2 separate regions of the Homo sapiens genome follow, and region 2 is linked to region 1. The links are contacts of gene promoters, found by promoter capture Hi-C in blood cells and fetal thymus (Javierre and others, 2016). All regions are on one chromosome and are shown on one strand. The core of a region is centred on a gene start or on the middle of the fragment in contact, and the rest is flanking DNA. Distances in the headings are between cores, read along the strand shown.

The links. Contacts are between HindIII fragments. The CHiCAGO score rates a contact against its expected background, and 5 or more counts as called.
Region 2: a contact is called between a fragment that was not itself captured here and the fragment with the promoter of FAM204A in region 1, in 1 of 17 cell types (naive CD4 T cells). The highest score is 5.1, in naive CD4 T cells.

Annotation. Positions count from the first base shown.
Region 1 is chr10:118,337,670-118,343,834 of GRCh38, reverse strand. FAM204A (family with sequence similarity 204 member A) reads left to right here and starts at 1,511. Exons shown (of 9, transcript NM_022063.3): 1 at 1,511-1,565; 2 at 1,908-2,108. RefSeq lists enhancers at 1,351-1,570, 1,207-1,706. The HindIII fragment of the contact is 7,280 bases long and covers 1-4,209 here.
Region 2 is chr10:117,337,270-117,343,429 of GRCh38, reverse strand. PDZD8 (PDZ domain containing 8) reads left to right here. Exons shown (of 5, transcript NM_173791.5): 2 at 2,328-2,450. Among named protein-coding and RNA genes, the nearest start is that of PDZD8, 35 kb to the left of the region's middle. The HindIII fragment of the contact is 788 bases long and covers 1,410-2,197 here.

The DNA.
Region 1 (6,165 bases), core at 262-2,761:
GATCCTTAACTCATTCAGCCTTGCTTCTACTCTAGAATCAGAGAATGTGAACAGGAAGAGGGACCTCGGCGATCCAAACTTGCTGATTCAGGTTTTACTATGATTCTGGGGTTATAGAAAACTGCTCTCTAAACTTGGCGCATCTTCTGGAAGATGTTGGAGGTGAGGTGGTTTAGTGGATAGTTAATAGGCTTAACCATCTGTTGATGTGAAATTGAGATATATTACTGAGTGCAATGCAAAATTTTATACACATTTAGCTTGCTTTGAAGAAAGACATTATTGGTAATGTTAACAGCAAAAAACAGCTGAGATTGAAAATTAGCGTGGGCTAGGTAACATGTTAAAGTCTTTATGTGTACAGTAGCCTCCCTTATCCGCAGGGAATACCTTCCAAGACTCCCCGGTAGATGCCTGAATCCTGGAATAATGGCGAACCCCACATATAGTTTTTCAATCTGATAACCAAGATGGCTACTAAGTGACTAAGAACCTGGTAGCCTAACAGCATGCATGGACAAAGCGATGATTCACACTGCAGATTTCATCAGGATATCCAGAATGGGCTTGCAATGAAACATTTGAATTGCTTATTTCTGGAATTTTTTACTTAATGTGTTTGGACCTTGGTTGACCCCAGGTAACTGAAATCAGGCTAAGAGAAGCCACAGATGAGGGAAGCCTACTGTATTTTCTTTTCTTTTCTTTTTTTGAAATAGGGTCTGGTTCTGTTGCCCAGGCTTTTCTTATATAATCATCACAAAATTAGCAAATAGGTACACTTAATGTTATTCTTATTATAAAACAGTATTTCGGAAAATGCAAATATTTCTAAAATAGCCCTATTCCCATCCCTATCCATAGGGTATTTTATCCTCTTCGCAGTGCTTTTCTCTCTCTTTTTTTTCCCCTTATTTTCTATGTTCCCCAAGCACCCCCTTCTGGGCATAACACAGTGCCTGCCACAAATAAGAAAAAAAGAAGTTCGGTAAACTTTTGGTCCAGTCAGTGAAGCACCTTGGACCCCATCACCAGACGGTAGGCGCCAAGAGAGCAAGAGTCAGCATGTTTTCTGCTAACCAGAGATTAGCACGATGCCTGGTACAAAGTAGGCGCCCAATAAATAGGTGAAGAAAGAAAAAAAATTAAAAAAAAGGAAGAGAGTGAGGGGAAAGGATGAATGAATGAAGACGTTTGCAGAGGGGCCTAGAAAGAAAGCACTCTGCAAGATTCTCCCTCCTGGTGGCATCAACTCTCAGTTCAAGGTCTATGTCAGCCCTTTCCTTGCCCAGACGCATTGGCCTACAGCAGGGAATGAAGAAAGAACAAAGTCTTTAAAAATGTTCAGAAGAAAGAGAAAACGGCAAGATAAAAGAGAGAAAAAAAAGAAAGAAAGGAACCACCTCCTTCGGGCGGACTAAAAAGGGAAGCCCCAGGAGGCCGGTTGCTAAGGCGACCCTAGGGCCAGAACGGCCCCAGCCCATTGGTTGAGACGCAGGAGCCAATGAGAAGGCGCGATGTTGACGGGGTCCTAAGATGGCTGCTGGGCGACCACTTCCTGACAGGTGAGTACGGCTTATGGAGGGTTGGTTACCCGCCGGTTCGGGCTCCGGCATGATGAGTCTGGGAGGGCCTCTTGTGGGCAGCCGAGGGAGGCGGCATGGGCGGCCTCATAGCTCCTCGGCCGAGCCTCCCGGAGCAGGCTAGAAAAGCCCCCGGCCCGGGGCCGCGGAAGCGACGGCGGGGCCGCCCTCAGCCTTCCTCGAAAGGGGCGTCGCAGCGGCCTCCCCAGCCTGTTATGTGGAGGGGGTTCTCCGTCCCACCCAGGTCAAAGTGAGAGGGGATTGAGGAGGCTGTCGATAGGGAAAACAGGCTCACGTTTACAGTTGCTGTATTCCGGAAAACAGCTCCAGTTAATGGGACTGCCAGCAGGCTAGACATCCTTCGCCGGAATGTGCAGCGCTTAGTTCTGTGCCCGGGAGGGGCTTCTCTCTCTTTTGGGATTGGAGTGTGGCATTGCCGCCAGAAAGCCTGCAGAATTCCGGGTTGTGCAGCCAAGCAGGAACGGTGTACCTTTCTAGACCCATCCTCTTGCAATCTTGGACCCTGTAAGTATTCTCACAGCGGAATCGACTTAAAATGAGCCTTGAACTGTTAACTTGGTTTATTGTCTTTCCATGCAGGATCTTGGGTCTGGGAAAATGTTTTCCAGGCCTCAAGTAAACGAACACTCTCTTTAATTAAAACAGTTGAATACATGCAAAATCTTGCTAAATAAGTAGTTTTTCTGGATTCGCTCTCAGGCCTGTAATTCAGTTGTCCTTTCTGTACCTTTTTTGAGAAAAGGAACACATTCATTTCATAAAAGTAAATAGGATATTTACGTTAATGTTGATGTTAACATGCTTGAAAATAGTAACTATTTTTAAGTCACAGACTCTGATTATGATGTAAATTACAATCTTCAGATTGTTAAATAATTGTGGCTTATAATTAGTATACAAGTGAAATTAATTTTAGATCAGACGAAGTTCAGGCTTCTGGAATTATTTCTAATCAAATACAAAATATAGGAAATAAGACAGCCTTATACGATGAAAATGGAATTTAAATTCTGGAATAGAGATGGAAAACATTTACCCATCGAGCTGCTCAAATATATCTTTTGGGTTTTGATTATAAGCAGCTGTCTGGTTGTCCAGAAAATATGACATTATTACTCAAACCTCTGACTGTGACTTTGACTTTGATGTATGCAACTTAGTATAGCATCTTGCATAGCTTTCTGTACTCAAAAAGTACAGAAAAAAATTCTTAACCAAATTTAACAAGTCTGTAATTATAGGCTAAGATCATTCTCAGCCCCAGTCGCAAATCCTTGTCCCCGCTTACAACTCTGCTCTGTAAAATTCATAATCTAAAGCCATGGGGCTATTTTTGTAAAACAAATGGATCAGAATGCATTAGGCAAGTCAGTTATCCCATCTGTAAATTGGGGGCGGGGCGGGTAGGGGAGGGGCTGATATAGATAGTAATTCCTAGTGGAAGGGTTGTTGTGAAGATTAGTGGAAAACCAAGGCCTGCCACACTGTTTGTATGCCATGTGCAGCAGTGACTTGCTTTGTTTCCCCTTTCTGGTTCTAGTGTTTCCTGTTGTAACTAGGGTTCCTTCCCCTTCTCAGTGTCCTGAAGTGTACAGAGTTTCTCTGAAAACATCCTCTTGGCTGAGTTGCTAGGTAGAGGAGAGAAACCTTATCTACTGGATACTGGGCTCTAATCAGGATTGCAGTGCTAGAGAGAATGGAGTGATACATCCAGGAGTGAGGTGACTCTGGGCATTTAGGGCACTTATAATATCAAAATCATAAAGAGGCATTTTAGAGCTGTAAGACATCTCAGAGATCATTTGATCAAACCTTTATTTTATAGCTTAAGAATGGAGGCCCAGACAAATGCAGTGGCTTTCTCCTAATTATGTTGCTCAGGACTAGAAACCATTTTCCAACTTTGAAGACTTTTTCCCCCTGTAACCAGTGCACAATCTAGAACGGTTTTTATTATAATTTGATTTCTCCCTGGCTGCTTTATTTTGAAAGATTGTGTCTACTCAACCTTATTTATGAATGTTTTTTTCTGATAAAAATCAGACCTATAACTACCAGTGAACCTCTGATTAACATGTGAAAAATAGTGCTTCACTAAATTGGTCTTTTCCTGTAATGATGAATGGTACAGTCTTACTGAGGGGAAAAATAAAATAGTTTGGGCTTTTTGAAATTAGCTTAGAGACTCCTGTTACTATATTCATACTTAGATTAGGAACCACTGAACTGTACCCTGTTTTTGATTCATTGTTATCTGACCAAGTATGCTAAATAATAACGATGGGTGGTTTTCAAGGGCAAACAAACAAACAAACAAGAAACCCTAGTTATTCAGACTAGGACAGTATATAAATATTTTCAGTTCATGGCAAATTGTGTTAGCCCAGGACTAAAGATGTGTTCTGCATAGTACACACAGAATGTCTTGAGGATAATTGTGGGATGGAATAAATCTTAACTCTAGAGGTGGAGGGTGTGTAAAATGAAGAAAGTGATATTCAAAACCATAGAGAGAAAAAGGATTCTGAGTCATTTACATTTTCCTTGGGGCTAAAATGATTAAATTGAAAATTATTTGGGTTGCAGGGTAAAAAAAATGAAAGCTTATGAATTAATACATTGGCTGTTATATGGACTTGGCTATAATCTATGCTAAACAAATTTAAGTTTCTGTTTCTCTGATATTCCACGTTTCTGGAGACAGGCTGAGTGAATTTTCACAGTTAAAGGGTAACTTGGGATTATCTGCCTTAAAATAAAGAAATACGCTCTGAAAGGCATAAGTAAGAGACACTTATAGAGAATCATTCTCCACAGCAGCCAAAACAAGAATAACAGGAGGCCTAACATGGTGCCAGTTGGAAACTTTGTGAATGACAAGTATATGCTATGAATAGAAAGACTGTTTTGAAACATGAGTCCAAAGCAAAAGTCACTAAGCAGCCACTCCATATTGGCTGATCTGTAACTGGGCTGCTGCTTACACGGGCAACTCCATTTTGCAGGCTGCACAGTAAGTGGCAGCAGTTATCCGTGTTTATCAGTGACTGCTCAGTCTCCCTTGTATTTGTTTTTTTGAGAGTCACAGGAAAATGGCACATGACTAAAGGTTCTAAAGAGTGGAATTCAAAACCTACCTGATTTGAATTTTGCCTGGATTTAGAGGTGGATTCCACCTTTTTCAAACTATTTTAATTTTTTTTCCTTTGGGTACACTCAAGAAATTATCATACCAGGCAGATGCCACACTGAGGACAGTTTTTAATGCCACATGAGCAGGAGCTAAAAATATATAATTTTGAGAAAATTTAAAAAGCCATAAAAAATGCCTAACTACTTGAAGGCTGATTAGCAACAACAACAGCAAAAAGCATGCCTTCTTCGGGGCAACTGAGACTGCTTCCCAGAGGGAAGCATGTTTGGGTGCCCAGAGCATAGACTATCACCCTGCAGAGATGCTAAAACAGTGGTTTAGTAGGAGACCTGTGCCACTGCCCATTGGAGAGGCATACACGTTTCATGAGCAGTCACATCTAAAGTCCAGGTCAAGGAATACTTGGCTCAAAAACTGAGCAGAAACTTGCTATGTGTATAGCTGTCATTTCGTGAGGCTAGGGATTTTTGCCTGTTTTATATACTTCTGTCCCCAGGGTCTTGAAGAGTGTCTGGCACATAAGTGGGCATGTAAAATATTTTATGGACAGGAAGGGAAAGAGTTATTTCTAACATAGACTCCAGTGATGCTAAGAAATCCAAACCTGAAATTTGTTACTGTTTTAAGTCCTTAAATGATAATGAGCCTAAAGGTATATTATATGGCGGTGGCCAAGTCATACTGGAACTTATTACTGCTTCCTTCCCCTTGCTCTCAGAACAGGAGAAATCTTTTTTATTAATAGCATGACACCTGTTTTTCAATATTGGCATATTTTACATGATGTCTTTTGTGCTATTGGAGTATTTCAAGAGTACTGCTGTCCCAACTTTAAAAATCCACAGACAGGTTTAGGGATAGATCTGGGTTTTATGGGGCCTGGAGCTTATATAACTTCGGGTTTCTTCCTTTAAACAAAGAAATGTAAATTCTGAATAGAAAACTAGGTACAGTGCTTTGGAAGGACCTGTGCAGATGAGGAATCTTGGAGCTTAAGGTTACCATTATCTTCCTAGTAATTTGCCCTCATTTTATTCCTCCATTCAGAAAACCAAACACTAACATTTGTTATAGACACTTCACATCAGATTGTGACTATCAAGGAAGCAAATGATTGCATCAGTTGCTAAGTGAGTGCACCACAATTATTAGAAACTTCAAAACTATCTTATGAACCCTGTCACTCATAATAGAAATGATAAAAATGTAATACATGGCCACAGAAATAATAATAGCAAAGAGAACTTAACATTTATTGAGCCCCTAGGACCTCCTAAACACTGTGTTGAGGGGCTTATCTCATTTAATCCTCAGAATAGCCCTATAAGCAGTATAATTATCCCTGCATTACAGATAAAGAAATTGAGGGTCAGAGATGTCAAATGATTTCCTCATACTACTAGTAGT
Region 2 (6,160 bases), core at 554-3,053, 1.0 Mb after region 1:
AAAAATTTGGTGCCAGTCTGTCTGAATCAAATGACTTCAAATGCAAATTAGCGTTTTAGTTGGGAGAAACTCGGGGGGCTTTCTGCTTTCCATACTAGTTTAGAAACAGGAGAAAACCACTGAGCATCGCCTGTGTCCCTACTTAACATTTCCTTAAAATTTTTTTCTTTAATCTTACTTACTGGGAAAACATAAAACAGCATTTAACCCCCTCTATTAGTGTCTTTCAGTATAAACTATAGTAGGCCATTGATATTTTCTAAGTGTTTATTTCAGTTTTAGTGTTAACTCTTTGTAAATCAGCGCAACACATACTCAAATCCTGATAGTGTGTGAAACATCCCGTCAGGTATGGATGATGGATGCAGAGAATTGTGAGACTAAGTCATATTTGACATTTTAAGGCATAAATGCACGCAATTTAGAGGACTGCAAGATAGAGAAGAGTGAAAGCAGCATGTATGGCCGAGTGCGAAAGAGGGGAGGATTTGGACAGGCTTTGAGGAATCTGGGAAAACTTCCAGTTGGTATGAAAGGCCTGAAGGCAGGAATATTCATAGTGTCTTCTGGGCATATGAGGTGACTTTCTAGATTGGAATGTTTATATTAAGAGAATATATGATTAGAAAGATTAATTGTGGGCTGGGTGTGGTGGCTCAGGCCTGTAATCCCAGCACTTTGGGAGGCCATGTGGGAGGCCGAGGCAGGCAGATCACTTGAGGTCAGGAGTTCAAGACTGATCTGGCCAGCGTGGCAAAACCCCATCTCTGCTAAAAATACAAAAATCATCCAGGTATAGTGGTGCATGCCTGTAATCCCAGCCACTTGGGAGGCTGAGGCAAGAGAATAGCTTGAATCAAGGAGGCAGAGGTTGCAGTGAGCCAAGATCGTGCCACTGCACTCCAGCTTGGGCAACAGAGCAAGACTGTGTCTCAAGAAAAAATAAAAAAGGAACATTAATTGTGGTGGACCTTAAATGTGAAACCAAGAACTTTTGACTATGTGTGTGTGTGTGTGTGTGTGTGTGTGTGTGTGTATCTGTTTGTGTGGTCAGTAAGAAGCCACTAAAACTTTCTGAGCAAGTAGATATCATGGCTAGTGACAATGTGTAGGGTGAATTGAAAACCACGGGGCTTTAAGCCCAATTTTCTTTCATTTTCTTTTTCTTTAGCTTTAATGGAGGAGTATGAGTTGTGTTTTAAATTAAAAGTTTTTTAAAACCTACAGTTTATAACTCAGCACAAACTTCTCCATAAAAACAACAATATTAGTGATGAGCATATGAATGCCTGGATAATTCATAGGTAACTGAGGTGTTATATAGTTGGACTTTGGAATTAGACTAGCTTGAATTCTGGTTTTGCCATTCACTTTGTAAAATTGAACAAACTTGTTAACCTTCCTAAGCTTCATTCTTTTCATCTGGAGAGAGGAGCCAATAATATTGCCCTCTTCAGGGTTGTGAGCATTAAATAAGATAATGCATGTAAAAAGCACTTAGCATACTGCCTGGCAAATAGTAAACATCTCTAATGAATATCTCTGCTGTGTTAATTGTTATTGATGTTGCTATTACAGTCATCTTTATCATGTACTAATCACTGTCTGTAATAGTCAGCTCTCTGTATTCGTGGGCTCCACATCCATGGGTTCCACATCCATGGATTCAAACAACTGTGGATTGAAAATATTTTTTAAAAATTTAATCTGCGCTGAACATGTACAGACTTTTTTCCTTGTCATTATTCTCTGAACAATATAGTCTTAACAACTATTTACATAGCATTTACATTGTATTAGGTATTATAAGTAATCTGGAGATGATTCAAAACATATGGGAGAATGTGTATAATGCAGATACTGGGCCATTTTATATTAGAGACTTGAGCATCCTGGGATTTTGGTATCCTTGGGAAGTACTGGAACCAATCCCCCATGGATGCCAAGGGGACTGTATATTATTTCCATGGAACATGCATTCTGAATTTTGATCTTGTACCGTAGGAACACTCTTCCCATCTGGTTCACAGTCTCTCTCCTGCCCCACCTAAACTTCATGGCCTACTTGCTGCCTCTAGGCTTTTCTTTTCTTTGTTCTCTCTTGCCTTATCAATGGGGGCATACCAAAAAACCAAGACTTATGGGTGCCATAGCGAAGGCACCATTTGCTGCCAGTTATGGGGGAGTGTGGTAAGCTTTGGTTTTGTAGAGCACGTGTAGTATTAGGTGTTCATTTTGCTTTGTGTTTTTGTACAGGTGAGTTTTGTTATGCTTTAAACTGTGGTGTTTATTATTCAGACATTTAGACTTATCTTTACTTTTGTCAGGTTTAAGCCGTTTTTTCCATACCAGACCTTGCAAGGATTTGAAGAAGATGAAGAGCATATCCATATACAACAATGGGCACTTACTGAAGGCCGTCTTAAAGTTACGTTGTTAGAATGTAGCAGGTATGTTCTTTGTTTTGTCATTACTAAGTTACGGGAAGAACAGTGCAGTGAAAATATTCCTAAGCAGTATTTGTGTTGTGTGTTCATTTAAATTATATTATTTACCTGTAAATTCTTTAATTGTAAATTTAATATCATAAAAGTAGTCCTTTCTAACTTTAACAAATATAAATCATATTTTAGAAAGTGTTTTAATGGAGGGAGAGGCATTTACTCTGTAGTCATTCTGACACTATTTAGATGCATAGTGCTCTGTTGGCTTATTTTTAACTTATTCTACCTACTGGGGAGCTGTTCCTATGTTAAAGAGAAAATTACTCAATGATACTTATTAAAGCAGAGTAAGGAAGTCTTTATTCAGGACCATCATGATAAGTATAGCAGCCACTGCAGTGAGGTCTTGAAGTGGGTGAGAGATTGGGCTCAACTCTGAATACAGCATGGGCAGGTGGAAATTTATAGCCAAGAAGCAATGTGGGATCAGTGGATGGAAACTTACTAAGAGGAAACATCAAGGGTAAAGGGGATTTTGGCTAAACCGACCTAACAGGATTCTTGCTAAAAACAGTCCAGGGTGATCAGACATCATGGAGGATGGTAAAGGACGATCAGATATCAAGGATAGGGGTTTCTTGCTAAACTGACTTCGCAGAGTTCTTTGCTGAAACTGGACAGATGGGCCTAGCAGAAGATTCAGAAACCTCAGTAAAGTTTGGCCTGGCAAAGAATCTTTGTCACCTATCAAAACGGTTTTGAGAATTGTTTGTGATAATTGGAAACACTCAGGAAAGTTGCAAAACTAGACTTTGAACCACTGTGGATTTTTAGCGTTTTAGAACTGGAAGCGATCTCAGAAATAATCTTGCCTAGCCTCCTTGTTTTACTTTGCCAGCACCAAAGTTTAAGCTATATTCATATCTTGCTTGAGCTACTTACTATACTAGCCTTCATATCTCCTAGTCCTCTGGTCCCCAATATAACAACCAACATGATCTTTTCAAAATGCAAATCTAATTGTCAGTCTCCTAGTTAAAACTCTTTAACAGCTTCCCCATTACTCTTAGGATGTGGACCCAAATCCTCACCATGACACACAGGTTCCTCTTAGCTCTCCAGCTTCAGTCTCACCATCCTCCGCCCAGCCCCTCATTCATAGTGCTTCAGCTACATAGGCCTTCCCAAGGCAAGGTGTTGGCAGACTGTTTCTCTAAGGGGCCAGATAGTACATTTTAGGCTGTGATTCACATGCTCTCTGTTGCAACTATACAACTCTGCCTTGCAGTACAGAAGCAGTCACAGATAATGTGTAACTGAATGAATGTGGCTGTGTGCCAGTAAAACTTTGTATATGAATTTTGTAATTTTCATATGTTATAAAATATTCTTTTGATACTTTTCAACCATTTAAAAACATAGAAACCCTTGATAGCCCACAGGTTATACAAAACAGGCAGTGGACTGAATTTAGACCATAAGCTGTAGTTTGCCATTCCCTACTTAAATATTTTAAAGCACCAAGCCCATTGTGTTGACTAGCTGCTGCTTTCTTGGCCCCCTTCTCTGCTCCATGAAGCCAACCTTTCTTGGTTTGGTTCAAAAGCTACCTTCTTAATGTATCTCCTGATCATTCCAAGTACAAGTATACTATCCTCCGGCTACATTTCTTTGACACTTGTTTGTACCACTTACTTGGTACATATGACTTTTATTTCCAACCCATAATACAATTAAGTACTTGAGCACACAGGTTATATTTTATATCTAATACATTTGTGTCCTTGCTAATGGTTAGGTTAGTTTTGAGTATACTAATAATATACTTAATCCTTTTTTTTTTTTTTTTTTTTTTTTGGTTAAGTCCAGGGTGACTCAGGATTGTGTATCATTATGTTAGAAAGCCTGGTAGACAAAGAATCCCTTTTTTTTTAAATCAAAAAAAGACTAAATATGTTGTCTATTTTGTAAAAGGAACTGCAGTGTACAGTAAAATACATATAATAGGTACTATGCTAGGTATTTAGAAAATACTAGTTCATTTGCTTTAATGTTGCTGGTGGGGTTAGGTATTGATTATATGTCTGTTAGCTTGTAGCTATTTAACCACTAGCTTTGGTGTCAGCTTTGCTCACCACATTTTTGCTTTACCTGCAGTACTGCTCACTTAAAGCCTTGCTACAGGAATCAAAGACTGCATGTAAGGCATTGAGAAAGTATAGCCAGACATTCTTTAGGTCATGTTGAGATAAATGAAAAGAAAAGCATTAGAATGTGTGAAGTACCTGTAACCAACTTTATTTTAATAAGGAACTGTGTAATAAATCTCTGAAAGGATAAGTGAGAAACCAATAAGAATTTTTACGGGGTATACAGGGAAGGAACTGGGTTGATGATGATGGACAGGGGTCAAGGTGATAGCCCAGCTATTCACTATAAACTTGTTTATGTTGTTTTATTTATCACCTGGTCAAAAATTAAGGTCCAGTATTTTTAGAGAGTACATAATTAGGCTGAAGGGAAAAACATGGAAAAATAGTTTTTTTAATATCTGAAGTTATGTAACTGTCGGCTTAGGTTATATAGCCAGCACCTTTCCCCAAGTGATAGATTCATCTTGGGAACAAGTACACTATCTAGAGATTTCCTTGTGCCATTTTTACAAATCCAAGCATGTAAAAGTTACTCAGTGTTGTGGTACTGTGTTATTGTTTACATAGTTTAAGAATTATTTGTGTATGAAGGCAAGAGTAAGTCTCAACTCATTCCTGCTTTTTTGTCTTCGTATTAAGTCCTAACATTCTTTCCGTTAAAAACTTAACGTTACTGTTTTTCTTGTAAACTTTTTTCTTAGTATAAAAACAGAAAACTCTGTTCAGGTAGATTTTAAGTTTATAGGATTCAAACTAAAGAGGACATATTACTGTAACCTAAGCATTTTTATTTCAATAGTTAATCTCATTTTGAATATAAATTCAGCTTGTGTGTTTTATTCTAATTCCTGAAGCAAAAAGAGGCACTAGAGAAAATGAAAGCACAAATAACAGTGCTTTCTTTTTGGAAGAAGGACCAAAAAAATGCTTATTACTTCATATATAGTGGAATAACATAGACTTTTGAGTTATAGAAAGCACTGAATTCAATCTAGCCATATGCCCTTATATAGTGTCACTAGGCAAGTTACACATCTGTGAAATGGGCAAGGGAGCTACTTTGCTGGTAATTGTAATCAGAGATAGGCAACTACCCACAATGCCTACCACATAGGATACCTACAGTAGATGTAGCTTCTATTATTATGTCTCAAGATAATCGTTGCAGTATCTGTGAAGAAAAAACGGCATGTTTTTTCTTGCATATTTGTTTGTGAGAATTGGAATTTGAATTTTATTAATTTAAAAAGGTCTCATATTGTAAAGGGAGGTTCTTTCCTAACTATCTGAAATACTGTTTCGCATTTCCCAAGCAATAGCTTGAGGGTGGAAAGGCAGTATTATGTGTAAAAATTGGTTTTCACATTTTGCTTTTGTCAAGTATTTTTTAAAAAGCAGTCATTCTGAACAATTGCATGTTTTTTTGAGTTGATGAAAGCTGATTTTTTTTAACCACAGATGAATGCAATGGCTGTTTGTCGTACTGCTAGTAGGTGAAATTATTTCACATTAGTGTTGCAATCAGATTGTTAAGATGATTATTTTTAAATTTATAATTTATAG